Regions from separate parts of the Homo sapiens genome. Here region 2 is linked to region 1. The links are contacts of gene promoters, found by promoter capture Hi-C in human tissues and cell types (Jung and others, 2019). All regions are on one chromosome and are shown on one strand. Each heading gives the region's core, a stretch centred on a gene start or on the middle of the fragment in contact. The rest is flanking DNA. Distances are from core to core; before and after follow the strand shown.

The links. Contacts are between HindIII fragments. The study calls those that stand out against the background at their distance.
Region 2: a fragment that was not itself captured here is called in contact with the fragment with the promoter of PABPN1L in region 1 in 1 of the 25 tissues and cell types used here (lymphoblastoid cells).

What each region holds. Positions count from the first base shown.
Region 1 is chr16:88,865,410-88,868,735 of GRCh38, forward strand. It overlaps PABPN1L (PABPN1 like, cytoplasmic), which reads right to left and starts at 1,251. Exons shown (of 7, transcript NM_001080487.4): 1 at 943-1,251; 2 at 397-532; 3 at 154-221. The coding sequence starts at 1,197. The HindIII fragment of the contact is 11,880 bases long and covers 1-3,326 here.
Region 2 is chr16:89,237,855-89,241,180 of GRCh38, forward strand. No RefSeq gene overlaps it. Among named protein-coding and RNA genes, the nearest start is that of ZNF778, 22 kb to the left of the region's middle. RefSeq lists a silencer at 3,174-3,263. The HindIII fragment of the contact is 4,092 bases long and covers 1-3,326 here.

The DNA.
Region 1 (3,326 bases), core at 1-2,500:
GCCCAGGCCAGTGTTTCCTCAAGGTGACGGGGCTGCCCCCAGGGTCAGACCCCCTTCCCAGCAAGGCTGCCTGGCCCATGGCCGGGCGCCAGACCCTCTGGTAGAGATGGGGCCCCATTCGCTGCCTGCCCCTTCACCCCGCCCACCACTCACGTTGCCCACGTAGACGGATCTGTGGTCAGCCTCCACCTTCTCCTCGGGGGTCCCAGAGAGGGGGCAGCCTGCGGAGAACACAGCTCAGGCCCGCAGGCCCTTGGTTCCTTCCTCACTCCTCTCACGGGGAAGGTCGCCCAGGCTTATAGGGGAGGTGACACCTTGGAGCCTGCCAGGCCCAACCTTAATGGAAACTGTGGGACCCTTGCTCAGTGGGGGGCGGCCTGTGCCCTTGGTTCCTACCCACGGTCTCAGGGCTCAGCAGCTGCCCGGCCGCGGTGCCCTCCTCTTCCTCGGCCTGTTGCTGCACTCCTGGAGGCCGTGGCGTCCCCTCGGCCTGCTCCATGGCACACACCTTCATCTTGATGGCCTCCAGCTCCTGCCGACACACGGCCCTGAGCCGGGCAGGCAGCCTGCAGGCTCTGCTCAAGGAAGGTGGGTGTGTGGCCTGCCAGCTCCAGCAGAGGGTCACAGCCCCAAGGGGCAGCCCTTCTCTGGACAGGGACACTCCTTCCTGGGGCAGCTGGCTGGGGATGAACTCGCCCCTGCAGAGAAGCCCCCGAAACCGCACCTCAAGGGCCCTTCCCCAGGCGAGAGAGGCCACCTTGACCCTGCAGTCTGTGTGGCTGGGGGCGGGGGGTCTCCTTGCCACCTTCGTCCAGGCAGGTGGGCAATGGCCCTCTCCCCTCCTAAGTCAGCTGCAGCCATCCGTCACCCAGACCCCGTGTCTCCACCAGCCCCTGTGCCCCAGGTCCCCTGAGATCCCCAGGGCCTCCACACAGCTGTTACCTGGTCAGGCAATGGGCACTCAGCCAGGTTCTCTTGCTCCAGCAGAGACAGCAGAAAGCCTGCATCCCCATCCTGGTCTTCCTCTGCATCCTCTTCCTCCTCTTTCTCCTCCTTCCCTTCCCCACCCTCTGGCCCCAGAATCTCCTTGGTCTCGTTCCAGGCCCCCCAGCCCTGGGCCTCAGGGTCTGAGGAGACCGTCTGGAGCCAGGCCTGAGTCGGGGGTGGGAAGAGAGAGCGGCTCGGGAAGGGCCACATGGTAGAGGGGCAGGAGGAAGGTGGGCCAGGCGAGGCCTCCCCTCCACTCCCCTCGCGTCCGCACCTGCCCAGGCTCTCCTGGAGTTTTAAGCCCTCCCCTGAGGCCAGCTGCTCCCACTAGAGCATTTGCAAAGGCTGAGTGGGGCTGAGCTTCCAGCCTTGGCTCCCGGCCCCGCCCCTTCCCTGTCACTCGGACAGGTACCTCCAGGACACTCTCCCTGGAGGAAGGAGAGGCTGAGTTGAGTGGGGGTCACCGGTCTCTTCTGCTTCCGCCTGGCCACGCTGTGGCTCACTGGAGCCTTGGTCTGTGACAGGGTTCACACCTCAGCAGCATCCACACGGCACGAACGCCACACTGCATGAACACTCGATCTAAGTGGGAACACGGGAGTGGTTTCTTCTAGTACCAGGGACCAAGCAGGCTGGAGAGGTGGCTTCCGACCAGGAGAGGCAGGGCCTGAGCAGAGACCGAGAGCAGGTGCATGGGATGAGAGGGCCGAGGCAGGTTGGGGCGGGGTCCTGGGCCCAGAGGAGGGGCAGCAACAGCTGTCTCTGCATCCTGACCCCCATGGAGTCCCCAGGGACCCTTGCCTCCCTAACCCTTATTCTGGGCCTTTTTTTTTTTTTTCTTTTTTTTTTAGGCAGGAGTCTTGCTTTGTTGCCAAGTCTGGAGTGCGGTGGCGCGATCTCGGCTCACGGCAACCTTTGCCTCCCAGGTTCGGGTGATTCTCCTGCCTCAGCCTCCTGAGTAGCTGGGATTACAGGCACCTGCCACCATGCCCAGCTAATTTTTTTTGTCTTTTTAGTAGAGACAGGGTTTCACCATGTTGCCCAGGCTGGTCTCGAACTCCTGACCTCAGGTGATCCGCCCGACTCGGCCTCCCGAAGTGCTGGGATTACAGGCGTGAGCACCGCACCTGGTCTGGGTCATCTTTTAGGTGGGAGCCACTTCCATGAGGCCAGAATTATTCTGCTGTGGGGCGGGGGCTCCGTGGGGAGTGACGGCGTGAGTTATTGTGGGGCGGGGTCTCCGTGGGGAGTGACGGCGTGAGTTACTGTGGCGGAATTCAGTGGGCATCCGGTGGTGTCTGCACCTGGCTTCACCCATGCAGGGTTGCAGCAGGAGGTGACCCGTGTCCGCCCTTGCGCCTCCCTCTGCACCTGCCACCGCGGCTGCTGGAGTCTGCTCTGGCCTTCATCTCCAGTGCTGCCGTCTCCCACCCACTCTGTGAAGGACTCGGGGCCAGGGGGTCATGCATGGCTCTTACCCCTGCCATTGGTGGTGGGAGACGGGGCCCCCTGCACAGCTCCTACCCCCAGGCCGAGGCCATCCTCTCTGTGACTGCACCCCGGTGTTTAGCCAGTGGGGCTGGGATTCCTGGGAATTTGGGACTGGGGGAGGAGAGAGAGACAGGGCGTGGCCTAGGCTGGAGCTGCACTGCTGCACCATGCACCACCCACGCAGGGCGGCCCTTCCTCCATCTTGGGCTGGGGGCTCGGGGAGCAGGTGGACATGGAGGCTGCCACAGCCTGGGAACCCAGGCTCCTGCACCCAGTCTGTTCTCACCTCTGTAAAAGCCAGAAGGTGTCTGAGATGGGTCTCAATCAATCAGTTTAGAGGTGTATCTTGCCAAGGTTAAGGGTGCACCCAGGAAAAAGAAACACGAAGCCACAGGCAACATCTGTGCTCTGCTTTTTCCAAAGAGGGTTTGGAGGCCGGGCATGGTGGCTCACGCCTATAATCCCAGCAGTCTGGGAGGCCGAGGTGAGCGGATCACTTAAGGTCAGGAGTTCAAAACCAGCCTGGCCAACATGGTGAAACCCTGTCTCTACTAAAAATACAAAAACAATTAGCCAGGCATGGTGGCGGGCGCCTGTAATCCCAGATACTTGGGAGGCTGAGGCAGGAGAATCACTTGAACCCGGGAGGCAGAGGTTGCAGTGAGCCGAGATCGCGCCACTGCACTCCGGCCTGGGCGACGGAGTGAGACTGTCTCAAAAAACAAAAACAAAAAAACCCAAAGAGGGTTTGGAGACTTTTATACTTAAAGGGAAAGAGCGGGCAGGAGGGGAACACAGGAAGGAAAGAAAAGGGAGGGCGGATAAAAGGCAAGTGGTAGCGTTCCTTT
Region 2 (3,326 bases), core at 503-3,002, 370 kb after region 1:
TATGATCTACACATGCTATTTAAAGATAGGACAGATAAAAAGTGTGACGCATCAGTATGTCATCTACAAGACACTTCAAATACAATGACGTAAATAGGTTAATAGTACCATGTAAACATAATAAAGTGGAGAGGCTGTATTTAACATCAGAAAAAATGACTTCAGCACAAAGAAAATTACCACAGGGTGTTGAGTGCAGTGGCTGATGCCTGTAATCCCAACACTTTGGGAGGCTGAGGTGGCTGGCTCACTTAAGGCCAGCAGTTCAAGACCAGCCTGGGCAACATGGCGAAACCCTGTCTGTACTAAAAATACAAAATTAGCCGGGCATGGTGGCAGGCACCTGTGATCCCAGCTACTTGGGAGGCTGAGGCAGGAGAATCTCTTGAACCCGGGAGGTGGAGGTTGCAATGAGCCGAGATAGCGCCATTGCACTCCAGCCTGGGCAACAAGAGCAAAACTCCATCTCATAAATAAAAGTTAAAAGCAAAATGTGATAAAAGACCACAAAAATGAAAAATTACAGTGTTAATTATATTGATTCAAATTAGTTATGTTAAATATTAGCAAATAATACAAAACCACATTGAGAAAATAATAAACCATGACCAAGTGGAATTTAAGACTGCAACTGGTTCAATTAGAAAGCCTATTAAATACTACACCATATGAATCCATCTAAGAAGATAAGGCATGTGATTGTATCCATAGGTGTTGATGAAGCCTTTGGGAAAATGTGGTACCTACTATTGATAGACGCACTCAAAATAGGAATTGGTGAATACTTTCTTAGGACGCCTGTGTCTGTAGCTATATGTGTGTGTGTGTGTACTGGAAGTGTTACCTAATGCAATTGGGCAAAACAGATTTGCAAAAAAGTGAACTATCTCTTGTGTGCATTATATGATATACATGGAAAGCCCTGTAGAATCAGTAAAAACATTTAGTAAGTTAGAGGAGGTGAAGTTGCCGTCAAAACATAGATGGTCTTCATCTACACAACCAATAACCAGTGAGGTGATATGATAGTAGAGAAAACTTATTTATAATAGCAATAAAACAATGCTTAGAAATAAATTTATCAAGAAATGTATAAAACCTAAATGAGGAAACTTTTTGTTTGTTTGTTTGTTTGAGACAGAGTCTCGCTCTGTCATCCAGGCTGGAGTGCAGTGGCATGATCTCGGCTCACTGCAACCTCCACCTCCTGGGTTCAAGTGATTCTCCTGCCTCAGCCTCCCAAGTAGCTGGTATTACAGGTACCTGCCACCACGCCCGGCTAATTTTTGTATTTTTAGTAGAGACGGGATTTCACCATGTTGGCCTGGCTGGTCTCAAACTCCTGACCTCATGATCTGTCCGTCTCGGCCTCCCAAAATGCTGGGGTTACAGGCGTGAGCCACCGGGCCGTGCCCGGCCATGAGGAAACTTTAAAACACTTTTTTTTTTTAGATGGGGATTTGCTCTGTCCCACAGGCTGCAGTGCAGTGGTGTGATCACAGCTCACTGCAGCCTCGACCTCCAGGGCTCAAGCGATCCTTCCTCCTCATCCTCTCAAGTAGCTGAGACTACAGGTGCACACCACCACACCAGGCTAATTAAAAACTTCTAGGCCAGGCGCGATGGCTCACGCCTGCAATCCCAGCACTTTGGGAGGCTGAGGCGGGTGGATCACGAGGTCAGGAGATCGAGACCATCCTGGCTAACATGGTGAAACCCCATCTCTATGAAAAATACAAAAAGTTAGCCAGGTGTGGTGGCGGGCGCCTGTAGTCCCAGCTGCTTAGGAGGCTGAGACAGGAGAATGGTGTGAACTCAGGAGGTGGAGCTTGCAGTGAGCCAAGATCACACCACTGCACTCCAGCCTGGGTGGCAGAGCAAGACTGTCTCAAAAAAAAAAAAAAAAAAAAAAAAAAAAAAAAAAAACCACATAGACTTGAACAAACGGGCAAATTCCTTGTTCTTTGATGGGATGACAACATCATAAAAATCCCATTCTTAATTCAGAAATGAAACATAATCCCAGTTACAACAGCACCAAAAGCTTTTTGTGGAGTTAATGCAGATTGACGCTGAAGTTCATGTGGGGGCACAGACGTCTGATGGTGCCCAAGAAACCCAGGAGACAAAACTGATGCTTCCCTGTGGACACTGCAGCATCCTCTAAAGCCGCTGTAATTAAGGTATGTGACACATGACCAGGAAGCAGACAGATGGACAAAAATGGAATATCTGGAAATAGACCTAGCAACATGGAAATTTAGTTAATAAAGTGGGTATTTCAGATCAGTGGGGCAAAAATGCAGTTTGTAATGAAAGGTGCTAGGACAACTGGTGAGCTGTCTGAACAAGATGGTTTTACATGTATAAATTACACCGTTCAGGTCGAGTGTGGCGGCTCACGCCTGTAATCCTAGCACTTTGGGAGGCCAAGGGGGGGCAGATCAGTTGAGATCAGGAGTTCGAGACCAGCCTGGCCAACATGGTGAAACCCCATCTCGGGCAGGCGCAGTGGCTCGCGCCTGTGATCCCAGCACTTTGGGAGGCCGAGGCAGGCGGATCACGAGGTCAGGAGATCGAGACCATCCTTGTTAACACAGTGAAACCCCGTCTCTACTAAAAATACAAAAAAATTAGCCGGGCGTGGTGGCGGGCGCCTGTAGTCCCAGCTACTCGGGAGGCTGAGCCAGGAGAATGGCGTGAACCCGGGAGGCGGAGCTTGCAGCGAGCCGAGATCGCGCCACTGCACTCCAGCCTGGGCAGCAGTGAGACTCCATCTCAAAAGAAAAGAAAAGAAAAGAAAAACCCCATCTGTACTAAAAATACGAAAGTTAGCCAGGCATGGTGGTGCGGGCCTGTAATCCCAGCTACTCAGGGGGCTGAGGCAGGAGAATTGGTTGAGCCCGGGAGGTGGAGCTTGCAGTGAGCCGAGATGGCGCCACTGCACTCCAGCCTGGGTGACAGAGCGAGACCCCGCCTTCCCCCCGCCCCCCAAAAAATTACACCGTTCACAGGAATAAGCTGCAAATGGATCAGGGATCTAAATGTGGACAAAACGTGCACACGTGGGTGATGTGAATGGTTTCGGGGCGATTGGGAAGAGGGCCTGGCCAGCAGGGGGCGGTAGCGCAGGCAGACCGGGTTCCGCGGTGCCTCGCCGGCTTCGGGGTGGGGGTCACCGCTCAGAAGGGGAGGAGAGCGAGGGACTTCCGGGGGGAAGGGAGGAGAGCGAGGGACTTCCGGGGGGAAGGGAGGAGAGCGAGGGACTTCCGGGGGGAAGGGAGGAGAGCGAGGGACTTCCGGGGGGAAGGGAGGAGAGCGAGGGA